Regions from separate parts of the Homo sapiens genome. Here region 2 is linked to region 1. Evidence: promoter capture Hi-C in 16 types of primary human blood cells and fetal thymus (Javierre and others, 2016). All regions are on one chromosome and are shown on one strand. Each heading gives the region's core, a stretch centred on a gene start or on the middle of the fragment in contact. The rest is flanking DNA. Distances are from core to core; before and after follow the strand shown.

The links. Contacts are between HindIII fragments. The CHiCAGO score rates a contact against its expected background, and 5 or more counts as called.
Region 2: a contact is called between a fragment that was not itself captured here and the fragment with the promoter of PLCH1-AS1 in region 1, in 1 of 17 cell types (megakaryocytes). The highest score is 6.4, in megakaryocytes.

The regions. Positions count from the first base shown.
Region 1 is chr3:155,445,937-155,452,208 of GRCh38, forward strand. PLCH1-AS1 (PLCH1 antisense RNA 1) reads left to right here and starts at 3,248. Exons shown (of 2, transcript NR_046746.1): 1 at 3,248-3,489. It also overlaps a transcript of PLCH1 not described here. The HindIII fragment of the contact is 6,189 bases long and covers 938-6,272 here.
Region 2 is chr3:155,703,511-155,709,782 of GRCh38, forward strand. PLCH1 (phospholipase C eta 1) reads right to left here. Exons shown (of 23, transcript NM_014996.4): 2 at 636-754. The coding sequence starts at 714. Among named protein-coding and RNA genes, the nearest start is that of PLCH1, 38 kb to the right of the region's middle. The HindIII fragment of the contact is 2,851 bases long and covers 1,767-4,617 here.

The DNA.
Region 1 (6,272 bases), core at 1,998-4,497:
CCCCACTTCCACATACACCCCACTTATTCGCTGATCTCTTCAATTATACAGTCTGTAAACATGATTTATTACCAATTTCTGTATTTGATGTGCATTCTCTGGCATCTTTTTTTTTTTTCTTTTTCTTTTATTTTTTTTATTTTGAGACAGAGTCTCGCTCTGTCACCAGGCTGGAGTGCAGTGGCGTGATCTTGGCTCACTGCAACCTCTGCCTCCAGGTTCAAGCAATTCTCCTGCCTCAGCCTCCCGAGTAGCTGGGACTACAGGTGCATGCCACAATGCCCCGCTAATTTTTGTATTTTTAGTAGAGATGGGGTTTCACCATGTTGGCCCAGATGGTCTCGATCTCTTGACCTCGTGATCCACCCACCTCAGCCTCCCAAAGTGCTGGATTATAGGCCTGGCCTGGCATCTTAAAGCTCAAGATTCAAATGGATAATTTAAAAAATGTTCTTAGTGTTTTTGTATTATATTTTTTTATATTGTGTGCAATTATGGAAATATTTTTAAAATTTGTTATCTCTAATGAATTCACAATATATGCAGAAAAAGTTGCTAGAGTGAATAAAGTTGCATAGAAAGTGACTTGTCCACTTGCCAACATTTTTCTGTTTTGCATTGCCTGGGCAGTTACCAACTTGCTTTTGTATTCAAGCAAGACGAAGAAATTACCATTCATGCATTTACCCATTTTTGCTCAGGGCTCAAACAGGGTACCACATTAGTAACTTTTAAAGAAATGATTAGCGAAAGTTGAAAATTTTCACCTACTATAGAAGCTGTCCTTTGTATCAGACAAATCAAACCAAACAAGATTTAAGGCTTTTAGAAAGAGTATTGGTTTCATATATATTTGAAATTTCAGAATCACATCTGCCTCTCAGGCCCAGAGTCTATTTAAGAAACTACAATCACTTTTTTTGTTTTCAGTTTTCAAAGCTTGATACAACCTAAATACTGTTTTTTTATCCAAAATCCAGTCTTAGGAAGGTACTATCTTTTTATAAAGGTCTAAATACTCTTTTATTTTCATATATAAACATGAAGATAATTCTGGAGATTTCCCTAAATAAAACCCAATGTGAACAATCAATGCTGAGAGGCAACCTGAGCTTTTCTTCTCTCATTGTTCCTTTTTATTTTGCAGAAAACTCTGAAGCATTTAGTCACCTAACCTATTGAAGAAGGGTGAGCTCACCTGGGCCTTGAGTACCTGAATCAAGTCAACTTTAGAAGATGAAACTGGGGGGAAAGGGGAGATACCCAAGAGAATGTGTCATACTCAGTAATAAGTAAGGTAGCTTGTTAATATCCACTATCAGTTTTGGGTATAGGTGACTAATATCCTTCTACACTGCCATTATTGAACTTAATGTCTACTTTCAGAAATGTATCCTAGGTGATCTCCCAGCCTATTCCTCCACTCTGAATATTTCAGTCTCAATATACAAAAGGGTTTGATCCCTTTGAACATGCAGCAGGCATAGACGTGTCTGGAACATGAGGTACAAATCTGAGAAACTAACAGTCCAGCTTACCTGATTCCTAAAGAACAACCCCCATTTCTATCCCCACATCTCTATGTCTGGGTTCCCCAACCCCAGCTTCCATCTTGCCTGTTTTTCCTGGGTTAACCTAATGGACACAATTATTAGCATCTCCATAGTCTGAAATTTGTAAATTAATGTGCATCAGTATCTGCTCTGGAAAGCTGTGGATGATGCATCAGTATTTAGCAGTTACATCAAGCAATTTAGTCACCTAGATTTGTGATTTGGTTGGTGGCCTTTCAGATGGGATGTCTGGCAGTAGGAAGATACCTCCTCCTGGATCATGGCTCAGCTGGCTCTGAGTTCCCACTTTAATTTCTGGCTTAGTGGAAGCTAGGAAGTGATTCAGTGGAAGTGAAATTGAATCTCAAAGCATTTCCTAAATAAGCAGGTGTCCTTTTTTGGTTGAGGCAGACTCTGGCTCCCTAAGGCAGACAGAGGGGATACAAAGTATATTCCTACTGTTTTCAGGCTGTCTTTGTTTCCGGAGTAAAAGATGGAATAGAATTTTTTTTCCTCAGTCTAGCACCACTTAGTAAATTTCTTTCCAGTTTATTATAATTATTTTTAAGTTTTAGCTTTTGATAGCATTGCAAGTCTTTTTTTCCTTTTGCTGTCACAAGCAATTTAACTGAGAGCTGTTAGACCACTGTCATTTGAAACAGGCATCTCTGCTACCATCTACCATCTGTTTAACTGTTATTAAAGTCTCAGATAATGTGTATGATTCTAAAATACACAGTAGTAAGTTATTTTGTGTTCATTTATCTGCCTAGAGTCTGAGAAGTTGATTCTTTGAAAAATAAGCCAAGTTGTAGTTTATCTTTCAGGAGGGAAAATTTTCTTGGTCAATCTCCAGCCTTCTACTTATTTGTAGTCTACCGTTTTGATTATGAGTTCTGGAAAACTCTGTATAACAGAAACTTCTCTTAAATTGTTATGAATTGTTACATAAGAGCCACGATTTCTCATCTGATCCTTCAAATAGATGTTCCCAGGAAGTTGCTTGATATTGGATTTCAAGAAATACTCTATTTCCTCAGGAATTGGTATGTTGTGATTAAATACAACTCTGCCGTCGGTGATTGTGATTCAGACTCCCACATGGTGGGGATTCAGTGAGTTGTGTTTCAACAGCATAGTGATTTGGGGCACATGTTTTATAATCCTATACATGGACAGTGAGAATATTGTTGCTGTGTGTGGCAGACACGTGGTATTGATTGCTGATTCTGAACACAGCAGCCATTCTCCTACCCCTTTTTCTAAGCTGACAGAACCTGACTTTCATGAGTGAGGCTGCAAATGTCAGATGCCCCCTTGCAGCTAGAGGTAGGCATATGACCCAGTTCTGACTAGTGAAGCATAATTGGAAGTCTATTGAGAGGCTCTTAGGAAAGATTCTCTTCCTTGATAAAGAGTCAGGGTGGGAGAAGAGAAGCTCCACAGCACCTGATTAGAAAAAAGAGGCAGAGAGACCCCAACCCTCTCTTCCTGCCTATGAATATTGATGTGAGAAGAAGTGGTATTTGGAGCTACTGGAGTCATTATGTGACAAAAAGATGTCCTTAGCAAGTAAGGGATGGCACTCAAGCCACTGAAACACCCCTGGACTTATCTCCCTCCAAACCTTGCAGTAGTTATTCCCTGTAGTTACCGATATCCTGTTCTTCTCTACTCCTGGACACACAGGGACACAGCATTTCTCCACCAAAGCATGGCTCCATGACTCGGTAGATGAAATGAAATGTTGCCAGAAGCGTCGTGTGCTATCTCGTGTTTGACTCTCTACCTGCTCTTCCCCTGCAGTAGTAATCGTGGGAGCATGTATATTTACGGAGGTGTCATAAGATCAAACAGCCTGGAAGGAAGAGCCAATGCCTGAAAAACAGCTGCTGTGACGAGCTGCCTGAACCCTCAGCCAACTTTGTTACTTTGTGTGAGTAAGAAATTAACTTCTGTTGTGTTAAGCCACTGGTGGGGGTTGTTTGTTACCATAGCATAAAGTAGTTTATCATGCCTGATACAATCTGTATTCTTTTAAGCCATTTATAATTGGTAGGCTCCTCCATGTAGCTGAAAACATCCTAATTCATACTATACACAGCATTTGACATGAAAACAACTTTCCTGTAAAATGAGACATTTGCCTTCATGGCAAAATAAATATCGACTACTTTTGCTTGCCAAGATGCCAATCTCTTTCTAGAAACAGCATCCCAATCTTACTTAAGGAAACCACTGCAGCAGACATGGCCATGCTCTGCCCATGTCTTCTCAGCACTTGCTTCTACTCACAGAAGATTGCTGTCACTGCAAACTCCTGTGTCTCTGCTTGAGAACTTTCGTCTGGTTGCAATAGAACACTCATCTCACACACAGGACAAGCCAAAAGTGCCCAGGAGTTAATGCCCAGAAGCCCCCAGCAAATTGTGTAAATAATAGATAATGTTGAAAAATATCCTAGCTTCCTCACTTCTGGGTTGAGATAACTCTGATGTGTGTTCTAGATTGTCTCCCTGTGGAATAAAGCTCCAATTGCTCATTGTGGGAACTGCTTTGATAACACATCCTTTATTGGCTTCTCTTCCTTCCCTGCCTCTCTTCTCCACTCCCCTACTGAGGTTTTCTAGGATCATATCCAAAATAAACCACTTGTTCTTGAAACCTTGTTTCAGAGTCTGCTCTGGGGGAACCCAAACCAAGACGTCATTCTCTCCAAGGGGAACCAATCTTTTTGGGACTGGCAGTTAAGTTAGATTACTTGCTCTGTCTTTAATATTTGGATCTTGAACAGAATCCCACAAAGACTATCTTTAGGGAGATAGACGCTTTTCAAAGGGTCTGCTTGTTAGTTCCTTCTTTATGGATTCCTGCAGTTCTTTTTGATACTTCTTTTCTGAGCCAGATTTTTGGTTTCTCTTCCATTCTATTAGTTACCTTATATCCCTTCAATACATTCCTTTTGGGATGAAATAGCTAGAATTTCTTCCTGTGGCTTGCAGTAAAAGAAAACAATGAATTTAAACAACACATTAAACCTCTTTCAGATATAAAGACTGATATAAATGAATGAGTTATAAAATGTATAAGAGCACTAAATGCTATATTTTAATTATTCACGAAATCAAATCCATAGGAGTCACTTTAAAATGTCAATGTTTTCATGTTTCTTTATATTTCATTTGAAATAGTGTCTCTAGCCAGTGAAAATGTCTTTACAGCATTTCAATACAATGCCCATGAACAATTATTGATCTGGAAGGGTAAAATAACTTGGTAGTGGTGGGACGGGTCATTGTGGTTGTTGTTGTTTTATTTTGTTTTGTTTTTATCTGGGGTGGTTACTAAGTTTCCATTATCTAGTGTAGTACTTTTAATTAAACATTTTTAAGATAAAAAAACTTTTTAAGGCATTTCTATGCGAAGAAACCTGGATTGCTATAATAATAGAGAAAATTTGTTTATTTATACAAACCTTACATACCTAACCATGAGGATTCATACAGCAAAGCTGTTTAAATATGATTTAAAGAAGATCCCCTAATGCCCAAATCTATGACAAGTTGAGTAACAAAATTAATAATGAGAATAATGGACTATAACCCCCAAAATAAAAAATATATATTGATGAGTCCATACTGATACCAATCATTCAAGAAATAAATAAGAGAATTCAAATTAATAAATATAGAAGAAATAACAGAAATATAAAATCATCATTTGATAACATTACAGTAATAATTACCTCAATCAAGAATCATTAATAGGTAAGGGTGTGATGAAAAACAGGATATTTACATGGTCTCAATTATCTTGCCACGAGAAATTTACCAAATACAAAGAGGAAAATAATGTTAAGTGAAGAAAATTTGAAAGACTGCCTTATCCAAGTGATCTAAGTTAACATCACTAGTAATTAGACAAAATGTCATTATGTGCCTCCTGATTTGATGTGTTTAGAAGGTGTGATGGTTCATTTTATGTGTCAACTTAACAGGGCCATGTAGTGCCCAGATATTTAGCTAAACATTACTTATGGGAATGTCTATGTGGGTATTTCTTGATGAGGTTAACATTTGAATTAGTAAACTGAATAAAGCAGATTTCCATCTGCAATGTGTGCGGGCCTCTTTCCATTTTTTGGAGGCCTGAATGGACTAAAAGTATTCTGTTGGTGCAAAGTAATCATGGTTTTTGCCATTAAAAGTAATGGCAAAATACTTTTGCACCAACCTAATATAAGTGAGAAAGAATGTTTTCTCTCTTCCTGTCTTCAAACTGTGACAGAAGTCTTCTGCTTTTGGGCCTAAATTCAGACTGAATCTTACATCATTGGCTTTCCTGGTTCTCAGACCTTCACTGTCAGACTGGAACCAACACTATCAGCTCACTTGCTTCTCAGGCCTTCCTACTCAAACTGGAATGTATGTACCATCAGCTCTTCTGCCGGGACTTCTCAGTCCCCATAATCACATCAGCCCATTCCTTATAATAAATCTCTCTCAATCCCTCTCTCTCTGTCTCTCTCTCACACACACATACATTCTCTCTCTCTATCTCCTACTGGCCCTATGTATTAGTCTGTTTTCATGTTGCTGATAAAGACATACCCAAGACTGGGAAGAAAAAGAGGTTTAATCGGACTTACAAGTTCCACATGACTGGGGAGGCCTCAGAATCATGATAGGAGGAGAAAGGCACTTCTTACACGGTGGCAGC
Region 2 (6,272 bases), core at 1,942-4,441, 260 kb after region 1:
AGGCAATTTGTCTTAGTTTGCCATGAAAATGACTAATATTGATTACTCTCTGATTCACAGCTGCAGTCCTCCACCCTGATAGTAACGGTTTAGTGCTGCAAACTCTTCTGTTCTGTTGTTATATGGGACATAATATATAGATAAGTCTGAAAGCCCTAAAGGACAGCAATAAAAGTGGGTGGACTTCTCTTCAATAAGTGTCTAAAGCAGGTGGCCACAAGCACCCTCTAACATCTCAATTTGGAAGGCCATGCTATGCTGGTAATAAGCATTGACTGGTGATCCACAAATATTAACTGAACAATTATATGGCCCTCACCCAAAATAATTACAAACATCAGAAAGGGATATTACTGGAGTTGACAGTGTGGTAGAAGAGGAAAGGCACTGGTACCAACTACCCTACGAAATAGAAAGAGATAACACTATTATAGTCGTTGAGGTGGGGCCCATTCCTTACAAGTGGAGATAGTAAGTGCAATGGGACTTCTTGGGTAATTATTCATAAACAAGTTAACTCAAGCTCTTGGTTCCATCCAACAATTATACCATATTTGCATCTAGAGTGCTAGAATAAAAGTCCTGTCAGAAACAAAATAAAAGATCCAACTACATAAATACAAGAGACAGCTTACCATGAAACACACTGTTGTCCACCAGAAAATGCCTGCGGTACTGCACACAGTTCCTTTTTTCCAAGTTCCAGTAACTCATTGTCAGAAGATTTCTGGCACAGCATCAAAACCAAATTGCCCTGTCAAGGGAAACAGAATGAGACAAAAATGAAGAAAACGGCAGCCACACGCTCACACTGGTAGCATAATGCCATCGGTTGCCCAGCATTACGGGGCAACATATACGGCATACAACTTCTCCACACATGGAGCTGGAATCCCCCAGGCCCTAAGAAATTTCTCACAAGTCTTCCCAGGGTCTAGAATGACATTTAGCATATCAAAACAGTAACTTTTTCAAACCACCTTTCAGGGCTCAATGTTACCCATCTCCAGGGGAAATAAACCTACCATCAGAGAGCAGGTTTCAGGACCAGTATATGTGCTCCCAGCCTCACTCCTAGTAGTCCAAGATCCAAACTAGTCAACACTGGTAACATTTCAGGAAATTTCAGTTGCAGGTGGGGAGGCAACTAACAGGAACGAAGCTATCATTCCCAATTCCTGAATTTTGTGTCAGTACAGCATCCATGTGGCCATGAATGAGCCAAGCACATTAATAAAATGTGCCTCCCTCTTTTTGGTTCATTGCTGGTGTCCATTTAGGACTGCTAGGGCCTGGATCTGCCCAGGCTGAACTCATTGATGTAACTAGAGCTGGGCACAGGCCTCAGCAAGGTAAACTAGCAGTGCCTGCTCCTACATAAGACTTGCTCCATCACAGACACAGAGAAACACAATGCTAGCTAGAGCAACAACTTGAAAAGCAGAGATCTGAGTCGATGAATTAAATTCCTCCAAAAGCTGACGTGCATAACCCTGAACAAGGCCTCCTTTGTTCACAGGATTTGGCTAAAGCAACTTTTCAGAATTCCAACCTCCTTTCTGTTCACAGAATAAAGCCAGGCAAAACCAAGCAAGGCTGGCATGAAGCAAAACCCACAGGTGGAAAACAATTTGTCATCTCTCCTACTAAAACCACCTAGAATTTTGTAAACGTATCCCAGGATAAAATCAGTCACTTAGTGAAAAAAATATATATTATCAGAGTGTTGTCTATTCATTAATGGAACAATTGGTGAAGGCTCCTGAAGCTTTTGTCAGAGCTTCTCCTTGGCTCCCTATGGCCCAACCTTAACCCACAACACCAGGGATTTTACCTAATTCCTGCCTATCCTGCCTTTTCTCTGGCTCCGTGCTGGACTGGCCACTTCCTCTTGCCTCATACCCACCTGGCTAATCTGACTGCTTATCCTACTCCCTAAGGCTGAGGGAGTCTTACTACTGTATGGAACTGACTACAAAATACAATAGAATATAGCTAATTATGAAAACAACCCAACCTCTGCCCTCTCCCCAGCCAATACTATATACTACAAAGTTCTCTTCTTTAGAAAGTATTTTTAGTTATACAAATAATGCAGTTATATATGTTCATTATTTTTAATAATGTGCATTTGTTTATAGTTAGCAAAATATATTCACATACATGATGCTCATTTGTCCCTTATTAATCTTCTGAGGTGAGTACTCTTCTCTCCTTCTACAACATTAAAGAAGATGACAAGGTGTTAGAGATTAACTGATTCACCCAATGCTGCTAGGAAAAAATAGTAATGAGACTTGAAGTCATATCTTCATATTCCAAAGTCAAGCCATAATAGCAACTAGGACTTTATGAAGTGAGGTCGTTTAAAAAATACAATCTGGGCTGCGCGCAGTGGCTCACGCCTGTAATCCCAGCACTTTGGGAGGCCAAGGCGGATGGATCACGAGGTCCAGAGATCGAGCCCAGCCTGGCCAACATAGTGAAATCCCATCTCTACTAAAAATACAAAAATTAGCTGGGTATGGTGGCACGCACCTGTAGTCCCAGCTATTCGGGAGGCTAAGGCAGGAGAATCACTTGAACCCAGGAGGCAGAGGTTGCAGTGAGGTGAGACAGCGCCACTGCACTCCAGCCTGGTGACAGAACAAGACTCTATCTCAAAAAAAAAAAAAAAAAAAAAAAAAAATCTGCTGGCCAGGTGCAGTGGCTCACGCCTGTAATCCCAGCACTTTGGGAGGCCAAGGTGGGTGGATCATGAGGTCAGGAGTTTGAAATCAGCCTGGCCAATTGGTGAAACCGTGTCTCTACTAAAAATACAAAAAATTAGGCCAGGTGCGGTGGCTCACACCTGTAATCCCAGCACTTTGGGAGGCCGAGGTGGGCAGATCACGAGGTCAGGAGTTCCAGACCAGCCTGACCAACATGGTGAAATCCCATCTCTACTAAAAATACAAAAATTAGCCGGGCATGGTGGCACACACCTATAATCCCATCTACTCAGGAGGCTGAGGCAGGAGAATCACTTGAACCCAGGAGGCGGAGGTTGCAGTGAGCTGAGATCCTGCCACTGCACTCCGGCCTGGGCGACAAAGACTCCGTCTCAAAAAAAAAAAAAAAATCTGCAAATTATTATACATTCCTCCCCTCAAAAGGTAGAATCTAAATTCACCTTCCCTTGAGTATGGGCTGGACTCAGTGACTCGTTTCTAACAATAAAATCAGCTGGAAATGATGCTATGAGTCTTCCAAGATGAGGTCACAAGAAGGATACCACTTCTGCCTGGTTCCCTATCTCTCAAGATGCTTGCATTGGAACCCAGCTACCACACTGTAAGGAAGCCCAGATTTAAGTGTTCTAGCTCACAGGCCCAGCTAGCCCCTCACCCAACAGCCAGCATCAGCCACAGACATGTGCTATATTGAATGTTTGTGTCTGCCCCAAATTCCTATGGTGAAATCTAATGCCCCCCAATGTGATAGTATTAGGAGGTGGGACCTTTAGTCTCCACCCTTATGATTAGGATTAGGTCCCTTATAGAAGAGACCCTAGAGAGCTAGCCCTACCCTTCCACCATATGAGAACACAGCAAGAAGTCAGCAGTCTGCAATCCAGGAAAGGGCCCTCACAAGACATCAAATCTGCCAATGCCTTGATCTTAGACTTCCCAGCCTCCAGAATTGTGAGAAATAAATTTCTGTTATTTATAAGCTACCCAGTTTATGGCATTGTTATAGCAGCCCAAAATGAACTAAGACAACATGAGAATAAATGAATCTACAGATGATTCTAACCCCAAGTATTTCAGATGAGGCCACAGATACTGATGAGAAGAAATAAGCCATCCCTCTGTGCCTCACATGTATTTTTGACCTATAGAAACAGCGAAAGACAAGGCCGGGCACAGTGGCTCACGCCTGTAATCCCAACACTTTGGGGGGCCAAAGTGGGTGGGTCACCTGAGGTCAAGAGTTCAAAACCAGCCTGGCCAACAAGGCAAAACTCCGTCTCTACTAAAAATAGAAAAATTAGCCAGGCGTGGGGGTGGGCGCCTGTAATCCCAGCTACTCGGGAGGCTGAGGCAGGAGAATCACATGGCCAAGACCATGCCACTGCACTCCAGCCTGGGCAACAAGAACAAAACTCCATCTCAAAAAAAAAAACGGTGAAAGATAATAGATAATTATTATTTTAAGACAAAAGATGTGGGGTAATTTGTTACATAGCAATAGATAATGTAACATATAATACATGTAACATCCTCTCAGAGGATGATCATCCAATCAGAGTTGAGACCTTCAACACTTTCGGGACAGAAGCACAAACCTACAGACATATATGTAATATTCACATACTTGGACATTAGCTCACATCAATGGCCCAGGCTTTCCAGCTTCCAGATCTTTTTGCTTTTCTTTAAGGGCTGGGTAACATGCCACTGCCTTCATGAAATGCCCCCAGGAATCTCTCCCTCCAGTTTACCTAAAATTCTTTCATGCACTGAACTCCCATAATCCTGTTTCCCAGTTACTGAGAACCTACTATGCATTAGGAACATTGATAAGACTTTACATCAGTGAGCCTCAACCTTGACTACACATTAGAATCATCTGGGAAGCTTAAGACTCCTGACTCCCAAGTTACACCCAGGCCAATTACATCAGAATCTCTAGGGGTGGGATTCAGGCATCAGCAGGAGACTAATGAAAAGATGCTCTCCCTTCGGCCTTCAGATTTAGAGATAATGGAGGTGGAGATAATAAATAGAGTTAGTAGGCCTGGGGCAAGGGAAGAGAGCTGTGCGATAAGCCTCATTTTAGCTTCCACCAGATTCAGAAGAGCCAGGCCCTAGGGCTCACTAAAGGGATTCAAGTGAAAGGGATGTTAGACTTCAACTAAGACAAACCTCTCATGGTGTAGCCAGAAGGAAACTGAGGCCCAGAAAGGATGTGTGGCTTGCAAGATAACACCTCTAGCTGGAAGATGATAAACTGATGGGAAACCCAGCCTCAGCAGTTCCAAAGCAGGTTGAGTCTTTCATGGCCCCGTTTGTGTGAACACAGTAGGTAAAAACAACTACTGAAGTATACTACATTCATTTATTTTTTAGACAATTTATATTACATTAGAGATGTATTTCCCCTGCATCTTGTATCCAGTTTGAAGTTGTTTGGTCAATATTCAGGCAAGGATGGTTTTAAATTGATCACCTTTTTTTTCTTTTCAACTTGCTTTTAAGACTTACAAAATATTCCACCTCCTAAGAGGTCTAGGTAATATAATATGTTACACATTCAGAACTCGATAAGCATTTACATCTTATAAATAGAACCTGCAGATTTACGCTCTTTATTAAACATACAGATTAATTATGGTACCATACAAAATAGTCTCATTGCCCTAAAGTCTGCTATGCTCTGCATTCTCCCTCCCTCCCCCTTAGCCCCTGACGAGCACTGATAATTTTTACTGTCTCTATAGTTTTGCCTTTTCCGGGATGTCTTATGGTTGGAATCACACAGTACATAGCCTTTTCCAATTGGCTTCTCTCACTTGGTGATATGCATTTAATGTTCTACGTCTTTTCATGGCTTGAGAGCTCATTTCATCCTAGCACTAAATAATATTCCATTGTCTGGATGTGCCACAGTTTATTTATCCACTGAGCTACTGATGAACATCTTAGTTGCTTCCAAATTTTGAAATTTATAAATACAGATCCTGCAAACATCCATGTGCAAGTTTTTGTGTGGATATAAGTTTTTAACTCATTTGGGTAATACCAAGGAGGGTGACTGCTGGACTGTGTGGTAAGAGTATGTTTAGTTTGTAAGAAACAGCCAAGCTATCTTCTAAAGTATAAGATATTTTGTATCATTTTGCATTGCTGCCAGCAATAAATGATAGTTCCTGTTGCTCTACATCTTTGCCAGCATTTGGTGTTACAAGTGTTCTGGATTTTGGCCTTTCTAATAGCTGTGTGGTGGTACTCATTGCTGTTTTAATTTCTACTTTGCTAATGATCTATATGAAGCACCTTTTCATATGCTTGTTTGCCAGTAGTATATCTTCTTCAGTGAGGTGTCATTCATTCATCCATTCATTCATTCATTTATTTATTTTGAGACAGGGTCTCACTCTGTCACTCAGGCCGAAGTACAGTGGCATAATCAAGGCTCAACTGCAGCCTCGACCTCCAGGGCTCAAGCAATCCTTCCATCTCAACCTCCTGAGTAGCTGGGACCACCAGCGTGAACCACCATGTCTGGCT